Linked DNA regions of Homo sapiens: region 2 is linked to region 1. The links are contacts of gene promoters, found by promoter capture Hi-C in blood cells and fetal thymus (Javierre and others, 2016). All regions are on one chromosome and are shown on one strand. The core of a region is centred on a gene start or on the middle of the fragment in contact, and the rest is flanking DNA. Distances in the headings are between cores, read along the strand shown. Region 1 holds the start of CDC6 (cell division cycle 6). Region 2 holds the start of CSF3 (colony stimulating factor 3).

Evidence for each region. Contacts are between HindIII fragments. The CHiCAGO score rates a contact against its expected background, and 5 or more counts as called.
Region 2: a contact is called between the fragment with the promoter of CSF3 here and the fragment with the promoter of CDC6 in region 1, in 1 of 17 cell types (M0 macrophages). The highest score is 5.2, in M0 macrophages.

Annotation. Positions count from the first base shown.
Region 1 is chr17:40,285,013-40,289,597 of GRCh38, reverse strand. It overlaps CDC6 (cell division cycle 6), which reads right to left and starts at 1,719. Exons shown (of 12, transcript NM_001254.4): 1 at 1,508-1,719; 2 at 1-190. The coding sequence starts at 177. RefSeq lists enhancers at 1,104-1,173, 1,204-1,383, 1,152-1,959. The HindIII fragment of the contact is 8,752 bases long and covers 1-3,177 here.
Region 2 is chr17:40,014,111-40,018,355 of GRCh38, reverse strand. CSF3 (colony stimulating factor 3) reads right to left here and starts at 2,916. Exons shown (of 5, transcript NM_172219.3): 1 at 2,842-2,916; 2 at 2,511-2,665; 3 at 2,016-2,123; 4 at 1,725-1,871; 5 at 543-1,561. The coding sequence starts at 2,881. The coding sequence ends at 1,397. PSMD3-AS1 (PSMD3 antisense RNA 1) reads left to right here and starts at 3,715. Exons shown (of 3, transcript NR_198981.1): 1 at 3,715-3,802; 2 at 3,997-4,118. RefSeq lists an enhancer at 2,507-3,006. The HindIII fragment of the contact is 16,036 bases long and covers 1-4,245 here.

The sequences.
Region 1 (4,585 bases), core at 470-2,969:
CAGACGTTTCCTGGGGCTGAGAGGCAGGGCTTTTACACGAGGAGAACAGGTTACGGTTTGGACATTTGTTGGTTCTAGTTTGGCATCACTGGAGTTTTTAGCTTTGTTCAATGCCCGAGACAGCTTCCTTTTTGGAAAACTGATTGTAGCCTGTGCCTGGGATCGGGTTTGAGGCATGACGACAGCACAGCTAGATTAAAAAAAATAAGAGGACAACTAGTCAATATGTGAAAGTGAAGAGAAAATAACTAACATGGAATTTATTTATACTGATGATTAACACTTATTTCCTAATTATGTTATCACACTTATTTTAGCATTCACTTTTGCTTCACATCCAAATCTATGCAAGAACAGCTGACATTTGTTGTCTACCTACTACGTGGAAGGGCGCTGTTATAAACACTTTAGGTACCAACTCGTTTAACAACGATCTTAGGAGTAGGTACTATTATTAGCCTTTATTTTACACATGAGAAAACTGAGATAAACAGTGGCCCAAAGTCACAGAAAAACAGGAATGTAACCCCGGGCATCTGGTGCCAGAGCCCAAGTTCTTAACCAATTGAGCGATGCAATAACAAGTTACCTGAAATGGGCCGGGCGCGGTGGCCCACGCCTGTAATCCCAGCACTTTGGGAGGCTGAGGCGGGCGGATCACCTGAGGTCAGGAGTTCGAGACCAGCCTGACCAACATGGAGAAACCCCGTCTCTACTAAAAATACAAAAATTACGGCCAAACGCGGTGGCTCACGCCTGTAATCCCAACACTTTGGGAGGCCGAGACGGGCCGAGACCATCCTGGCTAACACGGTGAAACCCCGTCTCTACTAAAAATGCAAAAAATTAGCCGGGCGTGGTGGTGGGCGCCTGTAGTCCCAGCTACTCGGGAGGCTGAGGCAGGAGAATGGCATGAACCCGGGAGGCGGAGCTTGCAGTGAGCCGAGATCGCGCCACTGCACTCCAGCCTGGGAGACCGAGCGAGACTCCGTCTCAAAAAAAAAAAAAAAATTAGCCGGACGTGGTGGCGGGCGCCTGTAGTCCCAGCTACATGAAGAGGCTGAGGCAGGAGAATGGCTTGAACCCGGCAGGCAGAGGTTGCAGTGAGCCGAGATCGCACCACTGCACTACAGCCTGGGCGACAAGAGCGAGACTCCGTCTCAAAAAAAAAAAAAAGTTACATGAATTGATTTATATAGAACTTCTAGTTTCCTCCCTCCAGGCACGCGGGGTGTCTTTATCACCAGTTCAGCCCAGCACCCGCCACATTTAGTCTCTTCTATCCCAAGCCCTCACACTGCAGCTCAGTCTTCCCTCAGTTCTTTCCGCCCCTGCACTCAGTCCTCATTCTAGGCAGCTCTCAACGCACCCCAGAATATTTCCTTCCTACAACTTTCACCTCCTTCACACCACGCATAACTGCTAGAACTACCCCGAGGGCACCTGCCCTTTCCCTGATCCCGACCTCAGACCTCCAGCGAGCTCAGCTCTTTTCCCTTCACTTCACCTCAGGCCTCGCCGGAACCCGCAGCCTTCACCCAGCTCCGCTGCCTCACAGACCCCAGGCCTCCTCGAGCAATCCTCTTCTTTCCACCTCCTCAGTGCAGGATCCTTCTCACGTCTCTCACACGCAGCCTCTCGGACTCACCACCACAAGCCCCTGAACAAACTGCACAGCGGCAGCAGCAAACTCCAGCCGCGCTCGCGCCAAATCCGAATGGCCACAGCGTTCCCACCTCCCGCCAAAGCCCGGCCTCGATTCTGATTGGCTGTAGTCACAGAGCCTTTCGCCTTGGGCACCGCCTCTTTTTTTGCTACCAATCCAGTGGAAGAGTTACAGCCAATGAGAGAGCCCCAAGTCTTAGAGTCGCTGTGAGGCCACGACCACTGAACGGGGGAGGGAATCTACATCCGGGGCCTCGGTGGAAAGACGCGCGATTGCGGCAGGGCGACTCTGGGTAAAGCGGGCCGGCCCGCCGCAAAGCACGCTGGGAGGCGTAGTCTTTGCTGCCGCGCAGTCGCACTCTTCCTTCGACTGGAAGTGTCAAGATGTGGTTCCCCTTCTCACTGCCTAAAGTACCCATTTGCATCATCCTGATGGGCTAGATTTTCAGAACTGCTACATGATACCTACCGTTTTGGGTTCTGTGCGCCAGGTATGATGCTAGGCACTTTCCTTACCTCTCTAATGCTCAACCTCGCAAAGTACAAAGCAAACTTCTATACAAGGTTAGAGGTCACAGCATCTTGGTGACAGTGAAGAGCCTAGGATCCAGATCTCCTGATGGCTGAACTAGTGATTTTTATGGTAAAGTTCTACACACCTATATAAAGAAAAACTATGCTTCATCATAGTATCTCTTGATTTGTGCTTCAAAGGTGAGAAACAGAGCCAACTCTTTACTTTTATTTCGTTCAACCTAAGAATATTATGTTCTGTGCATCTTCTTACCATTAATCCACACATCATGGGGAGGGAATTATGACCCCTTAATTTTAAAATCTTTTATGGCGAAACACTAGGGTTTCAGGGCCAGGGAAGACAGCTATATAGAAGAGGCAAGCTGAGTTTTTAATGAAAAATATAAATTAGCGCAGTAATTTGAAGGCCAGCTTCCAAAGCCAATAATTCATCTAAGCCTCAGGTTCCTTTAGAGGCCAGAACCCAATTCTAGGTGATGGTAAACATTTATCTTTTACCCCTCAGTAACAAACAAAATAGAGCCATAAAGCCTAGAAAGAGGGAAGCAACAATATTACGATCATCAGTGAATTGGTACCTAGTTCATGAAGAGAGCCAATATTGAGTGCTTAAGTGTATGCCAGGGGCTGTGCTCAGTATTTTACCTACATCACCTTATTAATCTTCACAAGCACCCCCATGAACCTGGTGTTATTTCACTTTACAAATGAGGGAACTACAGTAGAGGGGAGTTGAGTAAACTTGCCCAAGGTCACACAACTAGTAAGTGGAAGAGCTAGAATTTGAACTCTGAACTCTGACAGAAAATCAAACTCTTGACCACTTTATCATAGGGGGATGATTAGACAGATTCAGGTTCTAAACAGGAAGAGATGGTGGAGTACATTTCGTGAAGGCTTTTTAGCAGCTGAAAACTACAAAAGTGAAGAGAATGGGCTGCCATGAATGGAGAAAGTTACCACACAATGGAAGCTTTTTTTTTTTTTATTTTTGAGACAAGTCTCATTTTATCACCCAGGCTTGAGTGCCGTGCCATGATCTCGGCTCACTGCAATCTCCACCACCTGGGTTCAAGCCATTCTCCTGCCTCAGCCTCCTGAGTAGCCGGGACTACAGGCACGCGTCACCACGCCTGGCTAATATTTGAATTTTTAGTAGAGGGGTTTCACCATGTTGGCCAGGTTGGTCTCAAACTCCTGACTTCATGATCCACCCACCTCAGCCTCCCACAGTGCTGGGATTACAGGCATGAACCACCGCTCTTGGCCACAGTGGAAGCTTTTAAAAGGACTAGATGGTATTTCTGATGTCTTAGTAGGATAGTAGAACTCAGGAAGCAACCTTCACTGTTCGTATTTTTATAACATGGGCACCTAAGAATTGCCCTTAATAACCTGAAATGGTAATGTGTGCCCAGCCAGCTGTAAGGGGTGGTTATGGTAAACAACCTAGGAAGCTATGAGTACTTAGCATGCATATTGGAACCTATGAAAACACCAGGAAATGGCTGGGTGCGGTGGCTCACGCCTGTAATCCCAGCACTTTGGGAGGCTGAGGCGGGTGGATCACGAGGTCAGGAAATCGAGACCATCCTGGCTAACACGGTGAAACCCCGTCTCTACTAAAATACAAAAAAATTAGCCAGGCGTGGTGGCGGGTGCCTATAGTCCCAGCCACTCAGAAGGCTGCGGCGGGAGAATGGTGTGAACCCGGGAGGTGGAGCTTGCAGTGAGTGGAGATCACGCCACGCCACTGCACTCCGGCCTGGGCGACAAAGCGAGACTCCGCCTCAAAAAAAAAAGAAAAGAAGACACTAGGAAACATAGCAGTGGCCCAAGAAAAGCCTACAGGTGTAAATGACCACTGTGGAAGCAGGCAAATAATCACAGAATGTCAGGACTGAAAGGTTATCTACTTGAAGCTTTTCCTTTGCACTAATAATGATCCTCCAGTAACGTGATGCGTACACATCATATTGTTTCTTGCTTCTGTGCCTTTGTTTTTGCTGTTTCCTCTGTCTGGAATGCCACTAACCATCCATCTTCCCTGGCTAACTCCCATAAAGCCTTTTAATATCCTGCATAGGTTTCTCCTGGTAGCTATCCTGAAGTCTACTAAACTATGAGTTCCTTGGAGTCAAAGACCATGTCTTAGCCTTGCACAGTGGCATGCATCTGTAATTCCAGCTACTCGGGAGGCTGAGGTGGGAGGATCCCTTGAGCCCAGTTTGAGGACAGCCTGGACAACATAGGGAGACCCATTTCCAAGTTGGAAAAAAAAAAAAAAGACTTTTTATTTGGAGTCTCGCTCTGTCGCCCAGGCTGGAGTGCAGTGGCACAATCTCAGCTCACTGCAACCTCCACCCAACCGGGTTCAAGCAAC
Region 2 (4,245 bases), core at 1,667-4,166, 270 kb after region 1:
CAGGAAGTGACCAGCTGGGGCGAGTGCAGAGACCGAGTCTGAGGAGAGAAGCTCTGACCCCAGTGGTCACCTTGAACTTGGCTTCCACTTTGTGGGCAACTTGATGGATGGGCTCAAGTTTATGGAAGATGGTAAATGACAAGCCTGGTGCAGATGCTCAGCACTCCCTGGCTTCATCTTGTCTGGCTGTGTCTGGCCTGTTAAGCCCACCCAGACCCCATGCCCTCTCCTTTCCGGGTTCCCATGGTCCCTGTGCCTCTGTCTTCCCTGCCAGGCTTTGGCTGCTCGAGTGCAGATTCCATGTCTGCCTTGTTCCCTGCTGTGTCCCCAGCACTTAGCCCAGCGTCTGCACAGAGTAGGTGCTCAGATAAATATGTGCTAACGGAATGAATGTCAGACGAACTTGAGAACTTTCCTCCTCCTCCCTGGACCTCCTCCCCAGACCTCCTCCCCGACCTCCCTCTGGCCTCTCCCACCCTTCAGCCACCTCCCCAGCCCCTGGCCAGGCACCAGCTGGACTCAAGAAGGAGGAAGGACGTGACTGGAGGCAAACACTTTATTATCCTGAAGTTCAGTTACAATGTGACAGTGGAGGGGACACTGGTGAGTGGGGGGTGAAGAGGTGGAGGGTGACAGTGGAGCTTCCTTTCACACACAGGCCTGACATGATTCCTCCTGTCTGCTCCCTCCCACATCCCCAGTCCCCGTCCAGCAAGGCAAATGTCCAGGCACCTGCCTGGCCCTAAAAAGAGTCACAGTCCTGACCCTCGTGGGGGCAGGGCAGGTGTCCCGAGGCCACCCAGAAAAACAGGAGACGCGTCGGTGATGTTCGGGAGTCAAACCATGTCCCAAAAGTCTTAAGAAGAAAAACGAGATTCCCCAGCAAATTCGTGGGACCCCAGGGCCATGCCTCCCAGCTCTGGCCACCTCTGCTTGTCCAGGGGCCTCACAGCCAAGGGGATGCAGGGGCCGCTGTGCAGTCGGCTGAGGCCAGAGTGAGGGGTGCAAGGACCCAGATGGGGAACACTGCTGTTTAAATATTAAACAGGGATTTCTTGTCTCCCACGTGGGAGACCTGATACTCTCAAGGGTCCCAGGTGGGGACCCTCAGGACCAGGGGCTCACAGCGGCTCATCCCAGTGCCCATTGCAGAGCCAGGGCTGGGGAGCAGTCATAGTAATAAATACTTGGTATTTACCTATCTACCTCCCAGTCCAGGGGATGGGAGGACAGGAGCTTTTTCTCACTGCTACAGGCAGGAGAATGAAACTCAGAAATGCAGGGAAGGACACAGAGGCCTGGGGCTCCGTTCTGCTCTTCCCTGTCTTTAAATATGAGGCTTAAATAGACATAAATATTAAATAGAGATAAATACATGGGATGGGGAGGGCTTGGCTCAGGGCTGGGCAAGGTGGCGTAGAACGCGGTACGACACCTCCAGGAAGCTCTGCAGATGGGAGGCAACCAGGACCCCTCCTGCCCGGCGCTGGAAAGCAGAGGCGAAGGCCGGCATGGCACCCTGGGTGGGCTGCAGGGCAGGGGCCATTCCCAGTTCTTCCATCTGTGGGGGAAAGCTGTGATCAGTGGTTGGGCCCTTCTGAGTGGGCGTTATTACAAATGAGGAAATGCTGGGGGTGACAGCATGGACAGGGCCCATACACAGGCCTGGCTGTGGTGCCCAGAATGCCAGCACGACCTTGGCCACCCTGCCCAACAAGGCTCACCTGCTGCCAGATGGTGGTGGCAAAGTCGGCGACGTCCAGCTGCAGTGTGTCCAAGGTGGGACCCAACTCGGGGGAGATCCCTTCCAGGGCCTGCAGGAGCCCCTGGTAGAGGAAAAGGCCGCTATGGAGTTGGCTCAAGCAGCCTGCCTGTGAGACAGAGCGGAAGAGTTAGGGGGTGCTGCCTGAGATACGTCAGGCCCCCAGCTTGGAACCTGGAGACATGGGGGAGCCCATGGGTGTTCCTCCTCTCCTTCCCCCTCCTCATTAGCCTTATCCTTTCCTGACACTCACCAGCTGCAGGGCCTGGCTGGGGCAGCTGCTCAGGGGAGCCCAGGGGATGCCCAGAGAGTGTCCGAGCAGCACCAGCTCCTCGGGGTGGCACAGCTTGTAGGTGGCACACTGGGGATGGAAGGATGCTGAGTGAGACTCGCCATGGCCGGGTCGCCGCTCCTTCCCGGGTCCTCCCCGACTCTCTGGTCTTTCCCCTCCCTCCATGTCCTGCCAGGCTGTTCAGTTCCTCTCTGCCCTGCACCCCCACTCTCTGATCTCACAGGGGCCCTTGCCCTTTCTCCTGAATGTAATGCCTCCACTCCCATCCCAGCCAGCCCTCCCGAGCACTGTCCCCACCAAGGTCCTCCTCCCCAAGTCCCTTCCCAGCCTTCCCCAGCTCCACTGCTCCTAATATTCTCCCACGTCCCTTCCAGAGGATGTTGGCCCTGCAGTTCCATCCCCCTTAGCTCTCCCCACCGGGCTTCCCTCCACAGCCCTCTCACCCACCTCACTCACCAGCTTCTCCTGGAGCGCTGCGCCATCGCCCTGGATCTTCCTCACTTGCTCTAAGCACTTGAGCAGGAAGCTCTGGGGCAGGGAGCTGGCAGGGCCCAGGGGGGTGGCTTCCTGCACTGTCCAGAGTGCACTGTGCCACAGCAGCAGCTGCAGGGCTGGGGACAGAGCGGGCTCAGGAGACATGCTGTTCCCTACCACCTGAGGCCCTCTCGGGGACACTGGGTGCCTTTAATCCCCATTCCCAGAACGGGGATCCCCAGCCCCTCTGTCACACCAGCCTCCCTCCCATGCCAGGGCAGGCGGCTCTCCCATCCTGGGCCAAGACACTCACCCATCAGCTTCATGGGGCTCTGGGTGGCAGGTCCAGCCATGGGTCTGGGTGGGGCTGGGCTGCAGGCTCCGGGCTGTTTTGGGGCCCAGCTCTAGGGGGGCCTTTATACATAACCCCATGGAGGCCTGGGAGGAAATTACCTGGGGCCACGACTAAGGCTTAGTAATAACTTCCCAGGATTTATGCAAATTTGGTGTCCAAGACAATGCAGGGGGGTTGGAACAAAAAGCTGTTTGCGAAAGTTTTGTGAAATTGTGGAATCTCTGATCCTCCTTTGACGTCGCCTTGCCCCCCTCAAACTCCCTTCCTCCCGCTGCCCCACCCAGGCCTGAATGGCCCCAGAGTGTTTGAACAGAACAGCTGAACAAAGGCTGAGCCGCTGATAGACGCCTGGAAGCGGCAGCAGCCTGTGGGGAAGTGGCAGCTGAGTCGGGGTCTCCCTCTCTGCTCTGGCAGACTTGCGGGGGCAGTGTCCTTTGCCCCTCTCCTTTGGGATTCTCAAGCCTGTCCCCCAAGCCCCCAAATTCTAAGAGAGAAAAAAAGAAGCTGGTTGCTCCCATTCCTACCCCCAAACTCTCCGGAGGCTGCCTGTCTGGGAGACCTCCTGAGCCCCTACCTGAGATAAGGACATTGGGTCTTGGCTGCTGTGCCCACCCCACACTTGGATAGGCACCATCGAAAGTTCCAGGCTGTCCTGTCCCAAGTTGATTAGCTGGGAACTCCCCCAGAAACCCCCCCGCCCCCCATGACTCATTCGGCTAAAGCCCCTAGAATCCCGGTAGAGCCAGAGGAAACCGGATGTCTGTCCCGAATGAGGCAAGACCCTTCGAGGCGATTGGCTCACCTGACCTTCACCTCCTCGTGCACGACCCTGACAGTAGGGTCCCCAAGGGCTTTGGAACTGCGGGATTGGGACACGTGACTTCCCTGGTCATTCACCTTGAAGTGGACACGGGCTGGGGTGAGAGAGGGGAAACTGCCCCATCTTCTCATCTTAGAACCATGCAGCGTTAATGCTGGAAGGGACCTTGGAGTCGATTCCAACCCCGTGAACTGGGCCAGGGAAGGAAGTGCCTTGCCCAAGGTCATGGTAAGTGACAGAATTACAGCCTGGGCCTCTGGCTCAGACCTGAACGTTTTCTTTTTCTTTTCCAGATGGAGTCTTGCTCTGTCGCCCAGGCTGGAGTGCAGTGGCGCGATCTCGGCTCACTGCAAACTCTGCCTCTCGGGTTCACGCCATTCTCCTGCCTCAGCCTCCCGAGTAGCTGGAACTACAGGTGCCCGCCACCATGCCCGGCCAATTTTTTGTATTTTTAGTAGAGACGGGGTTTCACCGTGTTAGCCAGGATGGTCACGATCTCCTGACCTCGTGATCCACCCGCCTCGGCCTCCCAAAGTGCTGGG